Linked DNA regions of Homo sapiens: regions 1 and 2 are each linked to region 3. The links are contacts of gene promoters, found by promoter capture Hi-C in blood cells and fetal thymus (Javierre and others, 2016). All regions are on one chromosome and are shown on one strand. The core of a region is centred on a gene start or on the middle of the fragment in contact, and the rest is flanking DNA. Distances in the headings are between cores, read along the strand shown.

The links. Contacts are between HindIII fragments. The CHiCAGO score rates a contact against its expected background, and 5 or more counts as called.
Region 1: a contact is called between a fragment that was not itself captured here and the fragment with the promoter of AKAP8L in region 3, in 1 of 17 cell types (naive CD4 T cells). The highest score is 5.5, in naive CD4 T cells.
Region 2: a fragment that was not itself captured here is called in contact with the fragment with the promoter of AKAP8L in region 3 in 1 of 17 cell types (M2 macrophages); the score reaches 5.7 in M2 macrophages.

The regions. Positions count from the first base shown.
Region 1 is chr19:15,122,413-15,125,242 of GRCh38, reverse strand. HACL2 (2-hydroxyacyl-CoA lyase 2) reads left to right here. Exons shown (of 16, transcript NM_006844.5): 2 at 174-318; 3 at 1,667-1,868; 4 at 2,000-2,127; 5 at 2,213-2,351; 6 at 2,439-2,550. The coding sequence starts at 184. It overlaps ILVBL-AS1 (ILVBL antisense RNA 1), which reads right to left and starts at 1,083. Exons shown (of 3, transcript NR_186314.1): 1 at 1,018-1,083; 2 at 738-779. RefSeq lists a silencer at 1-3 and an enhancer at 1-717. The HindIII fragment of the contact is 596 bases long and covers 953-1,548 here.
Region 2 is chr19:15,154,854-15,157,563 of GRCh38, reverse strand. No RefSeq gene overlaps it. Among named protein-coding and RNA genes, the nearest start is that of MIR6795, 23 kb to the left of the region's middle. The HindIII fragment of the contact is 3,609 bases long and covers 1-2,710 here.
Region 3 is chr19:15,417,562-15,420,314 of GRCh38, reverse strand. AKAP8L (A-kinase anchoring protein 8 like) reads left to right here and starts at 1,327. Exons shown (of 14, transcript NM_014371.4): 1 at 1,327-1,404. The coding sequence starts at 1,392. It overlaps WIZ (WIZ zinc finger), which reads left to right. Exons shown (of 13, transcript NM_001371589.1): 13 at 1-337. The HindIII fragment of the contact is 13,658 bases long and covers 639-2,753 here.

The DNA.
Region 1 (2,830 bases), core at 1-2,500, 290 kb after region 3:
TCACCCCGAGCCTAGGCGCACAAAGGGCGTGGTCTGGCAGGGTTGGGGGCGTGGCCGCACAGAAACTGGCGGCAAGGGTCGTGGCCCTGGATCCTGCTGCGAGAAGGGGCGCGATTTCTTCCGGAGAGGTTCCCTGTCGCGCCCAAGTCTGGGAAGTGCCCTTTCTCTCTTAGGTACCACCTCATGGAGACCCCCGCGGCCGCCGCCCCCGCTGGGAGCTTATTCCCCTCCTTCCTGCTCCTGGCCTGCGGGACGCTGGTGGCCGCCTTGCTGGGCGCCGCTCACCGCCTGGGGCTCTTCTATCAGCTGCTGCACAAGGTGCGGGGCACAGAATGGGAGGTGGGCTGGGGGCAGTCAAAGAGGGAGGGGCCTCGTGGTGCTGCTTCCAGCTCACTCATTGTGCAGGGTGGGAAAGCGAGCCCCGACTAGTCCAGAGGGACTGGTAAGAGGTTCTGTCCAGGGCCCTGTCTCCATTGCCACGCTGTGTATGGAGGCCTGGACTTTGCCACTGGTAAGAGAGAACACGGAAGCTGCCGCTGCCGGGGCACTCGCACCCCACCTACCTCCTTCCCCAGTGACTCTTTTCACAGAACAGATGGACAGCACTCTGTGCTCCCTAACCTGGATGGGATAAATGGGGCAGAGGGCAGGCTCCAGCGAGGGGGTGGCAGTGACAGTTTCATAACAGTTGCCCTCTGCTGAGCTCAGTACTGTAGACTTTCTTACCTACCCCTTACCTTTTCCTTGAAAGTAGGTGCTGTTCTTTCTGTCTTCATTTTCTGCAAGAGGAAGCTGAGGCTCAGAGAGATTGTGTGGTGGTTTGCCCTAGGTGACATGTTTGGAGAGAGCTGACCCCACAGGTGTCCCCCTAAACTCCTTGCACCTCTGTTTGAAATTTACCCCTTCTCCAGACCCCTTCCTCAACCCTTTCTCTCCTAGCAGGGACCAAGCTTGACCTCTCCCTCCCCAAACCCTTCTCTACTGCTTCCTCTGCTAGCCAGGAGTGATGCCACTGACCTTCAGGACTTAGGAGATTTAAAGCAAGCCTTGGATGTGTAGGGCTGTGAGGCAGCTGGAGTTGGGAGGCCTCGGCACAGTCTGTGCCAGCAGCTCACTCCCGTGCCAGGCACATGGTGGCTGGCAGCCTGTCAACTAAGCCCTGGGCCTGTTTAGCGTCCATCAGGAGGGCATCAGGGAGGCTGGGATCAGGAGCCCAGCTGCCAGGCTCTGCAAGGATACTGGAGGGCAGGGAGGAGTCACAGCAGATGGCTCCCTGCCATCTGCTCTGCGTGCGTTGTGCCCCTGGCCAAACCCCCTGGGTTATATAACCCTCTCCTCTCTCCCTGATTGCCCTGCCATCCTGGAGACAGGCAGTGTAACAGTGGGGCACTTAAGAGCGTGGGTTCTATTGAACTTTCAGTCTTACTTGGGCAAGCCTTGATGTCCTCAGCTGTAAGAGGGATGTAATGACAAGAGGATCTGATAAGATGTTATGCCTTGGTTTGAGCCTGGCATGTAGTATAATATATGCCTAACCAAGACCAAGCTTCTCTTGACCTCTCACCCTGCTCCTGCCCCCTTACCTGGGGCAGGGGGATTGCCCCCTTTCCCAGCTGCCCTCTGCCCTGGCCTTTAACTTTATTGCTCCACCTGTCCTTGGGCCCAGGTGGACAAGGCAAGCGTCCGGCATGGCGGAGAGAACGTGGCCGCTGTGCTGAGGGCCCATGGTGTGCGGTTCATCTTCACGCTGGTCGGTGGGCACATTTCCCCGCTGCTGGTGGCCTGTGAGAAACTGGGCATCCGTGTGGTGGACACACGCCATGAGGTCACGGCCGTCTTTGCTGCTGATGCTATGGCCCGCCTGTCCGGTGAGGGCATTGCAGAGAGGGCTGGGGACTGGTTGGACTGTGGGCTAGAGTGTCTGTGAGGGTAGGGGTTTTTCAGAGGTGGAAGAATGGCCAAGAGAGTGGGCATGGCTGTGATGGGCTCTGTGTTCCAGGGACGGTGGGCGTGGCGGCAGTGACAGCAGGCCCTGGCCTCACCAACACGGTGACTGCGGTGAAGAATGCTCAGATGGCTCAGTCCCCAATCCTGCTTCTGGGTGGGGCTGCCAGCACTCTGCTGCAGGTACCCAGTCCTTGGGGGCCAGTGGGGGCCTAGGGGGGCTTGAAGGGCTCATGCGATAACCCTGCCACACCTCTGTCTTTGCCAGAACCGGGGTGCGCTCCAGGCTGTTGATCAGCTGTCCCTTTTCCGGCCACTCTGTAAGTTTTGTGTGTCTGTGCGGAGGGTGCGGGACATTGTGCCCACCCTGAGGGCCGCGATGGCTGCCGCCCAGTCGGGCACCCCAGGTAGGTGGAGGATGGTGATGCTGAGCAGTGCTGGGGCCGAGGGGCTGGGGACATGTTATGGACTCAGCGTCCTCCCTGTCCCTGCAGGTCCGGTGTTTGTGGAGCTGCCCGTTGACGTGCTGTACCCCTACTTCATGGTCCAGAAGGAGATGGTGCCAGCCAAGCCACCCAAGGGCCTCGTGGGCCGAGTGGTCTCCTGGTGAATAGCCCCACCCCTGCCATTCCCTCCTTTATCCCCCGTTCTCTCCTGCAGCTTCCAGCCCACACCCATCCTCCTTTGATTCACATGTGGACTGGGAGGAGACAGCTGGGGGGAGAGCATTCCAGGTAGAAGGAACAGCATGTGCAAAGGTCCTGAGGCAGGAATGAACTGGGTGGGTAGGGAAAGCAAGGCGGCCCTCGTGGAGGCAGCAAAGGGGAGAGGCTCAGGACAGCCCTCCTCCTCCTCCTTTTCCCTTTCTTCTCCTCCTCCATCATCT
Region 2 (2,710 bases), core at 194-2,693, 260 kb after region 3:
GGATGAATGAGAGATGGTGGATAAATACCCCAGCTTCCTCGCCACTCTCTGTGGGAATTCATGGATATGATCCACAGAGTCTCCCAAAGGATGCTCTTTGGGATTAAGCCCCAGTTGCCCACAGCAGCAACCTACTCTTCCTCACTCCTACTAGAGCTTTCTGGAATGATCTTGCGAATAAATTCCTTGCACTTGAATCATTGGCCCAAGAGAAGTCCATCTTAGCTTTATGCATGAGTAGATTCTTGGGAATAAAAAATAAAATATCTACTGGGGCTTAAGCAAGTTTGGGTATTCTTCTTCCCAAGTGCTGTACAAATGAGGAGAAAGTCCTTCTCCCTACCCATTTTGTCCACTCTATCATGCAACCTTGGCTTCATGTCAACAGAATATTGAAGAAGAGTGTCCCACAGCGGGAACCCACTTTCGTACCTGGTGGAGCTGACTTATTTGTAAGCACATGTGAGACTCACCCACACTGGGAGCTCCCTGGAATGATTGCAGAAAGGATGTTAGGTTGAGGACTAGGAAGCCTGCACTGGTGATGGAGGAAAATTAACTAATGAGATTCAAGGATTCATATGTATGTGATTTCATTGGCATGCTGAAGTTGGGAAGGGTTGGGGACTTTGGAATTGACATCCTAGTTGGTTTTTTGACTGAAAGGACAATGATAAAACAGCTGAGTGTCTGCTTTTTGCCTCCAGATCTGCACTGATCTTCCTCAACTCTTCTCTGTGCTCTGGGAGAATGACCCAGGTAGATGGCATCAATGGGTTTCCTTACTCTCTGGCTTCCACTTGGGTTTGGCCAATGAGAGACACAGGTGAGGGATTAGAGGGTGGAATGTATTTGTCTCCCTGGCTCCCTGCCTGCAGGGTACCTGCAGTGCTCTCCCTCCAGCTACCTACCCTCTGTGGGTCTGGGTTATTGTTTCCTCTGCTTGGCCCTTTTGGCATAGAAGCGATAAAGGCTCTCCACCATTGTGAGCCCCAAGGTATAGTAACATTCCTTGCCTACATTCTGCGCATGCCTCATCTGTCTAGAATGTCAATCATTTATTTATTATCTATCTATGTCTATCATCTATCGTTTATCTTTCATCCGTCTATATCTATCTTATGCTTCTCTGTCCTCTGTTGTCTATTTATATCTATGAATCTTTCTATTTTTCTATCATCTATCATTTATATATCTTTCTCTCCATCCATCTACCAATCTTTCTTCTTCTTTTTTTTTTGAGACGGAGTTTTGCTCTATTTCCCAGGCTGGAGTGGAGTGGCGAGATCTCGGCTCACTGCAAACTCTGCCTCCCGGGTTCATGCCATTCTCCTGCCTCAGCCTCCCAAGTGGCTGGGACTACAGGCGTCCACCACCGCGCCTGGCTAATTTTTTGTATTTTTAGTAGAGATGGGGTTTCACCATGTTAGCCAGGATGGTCTCGATCTCCTGACCTCGTGATCCGCCCGCCTTGGCCTCCCAAAGTGCTGGGATTACAGGCGTGAGCCACTGTGCCCGGCCTCTTCTCTTTTTTTTTTTTTTTTTTTTTGAGATGGAGTTTCACTCTTGTTGCCCAGGCTGGAATGCAATGGCGTGATCTTGGCTCACTGCAACCTCCGCTTCCTGGGTTCAAGCAATTCTCCTGCCTTAACCTCCTGAGTAGCTGGGATTACAGGCATGCACCACTACGCCTGGCTAATTTTTGTATTTTTAGTAGAGATGGGGTTTCTTCATGTTGGTCAGCCTGGTCTCGAACTCCCGACCTCAGGTGATCTGCCTGCCTTAGCCTCCCAAAGTGCTGGGATTACAGGCATGAGCCACTGAGCCTGGCCTAATTTTTGTATTTTTAAGTAGAGACAGGGTCACCATGTTGGCAGGCTGGTCTTGAACTACTGACCTCGTGATCCACCCTCCTTGGCCTGCCAATGTGCCGGGATTACAGGCATAAGCCACTGCACCCAGCCTTATCTGAGCCTTTCAAAGCCTCTATAGACAGCTCCTTCCCTAGCTTTTGGTTTAGTCTATTTGTCTCAACTGTCACTCACTGCCTCAGGCATCCATGAAGCTAAAATACCTTCCTGTAGCTGTTGTCAACAAAGGACCCCCAGAGTGAAGGCTTTTTGCATGGTTTATCTCAGAGCCAGGTCAAATACAGAGAGCTTTGCCAGTGGGATCTTGCAGGGAACCATTAGCTTGGTAAATAATGACAATTCTTGGCCGGGTGTGGTGGCTCACACCTGTAATCCCAGCACTTCGGGAGGCCGAGGTGGGCAGATCATTTGAGGTCGGGAGTTTGAGACCAGCTTGGCCAACATGGTAAAACGCTGTCTCTACTAAAAATACAAAAATTAGCCAGGCGTGGTGGTGCATGCCTGTAATTCCAGCTACTTGGGAGGCTGAGGCAGGAGAATTGCTTGAACCTGGGAGGCGGAGGTTGCAGTGAGCTGAGATTGCACCACCGCACTCCAGCCTGGGCGACAGAGAGAGAGAGACTCCATCTCAATAAATAAATAAATAAATAAATAAAATTTAAAAAATAATGACAATTCTTTGGGAATGAGGCTTGAAAGTGCTCTAGTTCTGTTTTGCTCTCTCTGGTGGATGCCAGGCTGCACCAGAGTTTGGGCTGGTATTTTTCAAGACGACCACGGAGCTGGAGAGTGGGGGAGAAGACCAGAGATGTTAAAATGCCGAGTATGCTGTTCTCACT
Region 3 (2,753 bases), core at 78-2,577:
AAGCCTCATTTGGGTGGGGGGAGTTTTATTAAAACAGTTTATCATGGAGAATTCCAACTATACAAAAGTAGAGCAAACAGTAAAATGGACTCTCATCTATCCATCACCAACCCATGACCAATGTCTTCAGCTGTCAGAGATTTATCTTATAGCTCCTTGCTTCCTCCTCCTCTCTCTACCTGTCTGAATTGTGTGAAGCACATCCTGGCCATAAGATCAGTTAACTTCTTAGTATTTCAGTATGTTTCTCTCAACGTTGTAAATGCCACTATTACACCTAAAGAAATCAACAATATCAAAAAGAAACAGCATACCTTAAAAAAAGTTTTAAAACACACGAAGCGTAGAAGTCGTAATTGCGCAGCTTAATGAGTTTTCACAAACACACGTGTTAAGTACTCTTCGGTGCAGCTCTGTCATCTCTAGAAATTATGAGTTGTCCCTGGCAGGGTTTCCATATGCCCAGGAAACAGACTGAGGACATGACTGGTGCCCGGCTGCACTATTGCAGGATCTCTCGAGCCCAGAGTGAATCAGGAGGGTTTTAGAAGCAAAGCTCCCATTTTAACACGTAACTGTCAAGGACCTTGAGCAAATCATGAGTTCCAAGCTTCAGTTTTAAGTGAGGATTAAAAGCTTTTTGCAGGTTTGAAGGAGCATTCGAATGACACACAATACAAACGGAATTATTACACATATAAGCATATGCCATATAAATATATTATCGTTTTGTTACGATTAATCACATTTATTCAGTGCACTGGCACCAGAATGATTTCTTTACACACACTTTGTCACGTAATGTTGAAACGTGTGTCCAGCATCTTGTTTGGTGCTGTTTTAATTTTCTCTTCTCAACATGGCTTTGCTATGCTTGTTTTGGAGCCGAAGGCCAGAGAATTTGAGAGACTTAGCTAGGTCCCCTACCCAGCACCTCGGTGGCGGAGTTGGCATCCCAGCCCTGCCCTGAGCCGTAGACCCGACTCCCTCTGGCGGGTCTCCAGGGTACGGGCGCTCCTCCAGCCCGACCATGCTTGGGCCTTGGGCCTTTCCGTAGTGCACAGCTCCGCCCCCTCAAATTCTATAGGACTCCGCCTCTCTGCCGGCTTCTGTAGGCCAATCACTGAGGCCTTAGAATAACAGAAGGCGGGGACAAGGCGGGGCTCTCACGAGATTGCCAGCAGCTTCCAGCCACTGATATGAGGAGGCATAGAGATAGACAGCGGTTCCTTCCAATAGACGTGAAGCCGAGGCCGGTATGAGCCAATGCGGTCGGGAGGCGGGGCTCGGGTGTGTGTGGAGGGGACCCTGTGGTTAGCAGCAGCTATCGCAGCGTCGGATGTTCAGAGCAGCAGAAGCCGGCGTCGTCGGATGTTGTGTTGCCCGCCACCATGAGCTACACAGGTGGGCCTGGCAGGGTGGGGTCGGGCTCTGCGTGGGGGATGGGACAGGGACGTGCGGATGCCGCACCAGGCTTGCCCGCACCTCCCCTGGGGCCCCGTCACTGCCTTCCCTGCGGTCACAAAATGGCGCCGCTGGCCCGTCGCCTCAGGGTCGCTGCCCTCACGCCTCGTTGCCTCAGCTCTCTGTGTCTGCAGCCGGCGTCCCGGCTCCCGGCCGCCTGATGTCTTGGCTTCTGTCGCCTGTGTCCGTGGGTCCGGGCCTCAGCGCACGAGGTCTCCGCCCCCACCACCTCCGTCCCTGGCCTGCGCTCCTGGACCTCGACGCCTTAGGTTTCCCTTTCTCAGGCCTTGGTCCTTGCGAGCAGGCAGCAGGCTCGGCTGCCGTCGCCATTGTCGCGTCCTCCCCCGCGCAGTTTCTCTGCAAAAACGCCGCAGCTCTACACCCCCATCCCGATCCCACCCACCACCCCCTTTTGTCTATTTCAGAACTGGGAAAGGCGCCAGGCCCTAGGGGGATAAGTAAATATTGGAAGGGTTTGGGCTGAGCGGGGAGCCTTGGGCCCCTAGGGGCTGAACTGCAAGGAATGACAAGGTTCCATGTTAATTCCCTCTGCGTCTGTCAAATGAACCGTGTCCGGTACAGACTGGGTATTGGGAATACAGACAAGAATTCCTCAAGCAGCTTAGAGGCGAGGATCTTAATAGGCAAATAAGCGAGTGTAGGATATATTTTAGGGTGGTCAGTACCGTGCGGGGGTCGCTCCACTACGTGGAGTGGTTGGAGCCTTCTGTAAAGAGGTGACATTTGAGCAGAGACCTAAATGGAGGGAGCGAATAAAGATATCTGGCCCAGGGAGCTTTTGCTGTAAAAGGCTTACGGGCAGGAACTGCCTGGCTTGTTAGAAGATCAGCCAGGGAGGCCAGTGGGAGGCCAATGGGATTTGAAAGGGAGAGTGGGTGACAGATCCGAGAGCCCCTCTCCGCCCCCCGCAATATGCTTGGGCGACTGTAAATCATCACTGGGTGAATTGCCAAGGCCTCCTGGGTTTGCCTTGGCAGTGACTGATGAGGCTTCTCGGCCAGGAGACTTACACTAGGCCTCCCTGTTTGGTGAGGGTATTATAGGCTTGAGCGTGTGTGGTTGCCAGGTAACCTGCATTCTACTTGGAATTTTGAGAACTGAGAATGCAACGTGAGTCTGTGGGGCTCCTTTGTAGACCACTTTATGTTGGCATAGGCAAGAAGGTAGTGCCAGTCCCCTCTACCCTGGCTGCCAGGTCAGGAGCTTTCCAAGAACCCCAGTTTTTCTAGCAACCATCCCCCAGCCCAGTGGGTTCTCATCCAGGGGTG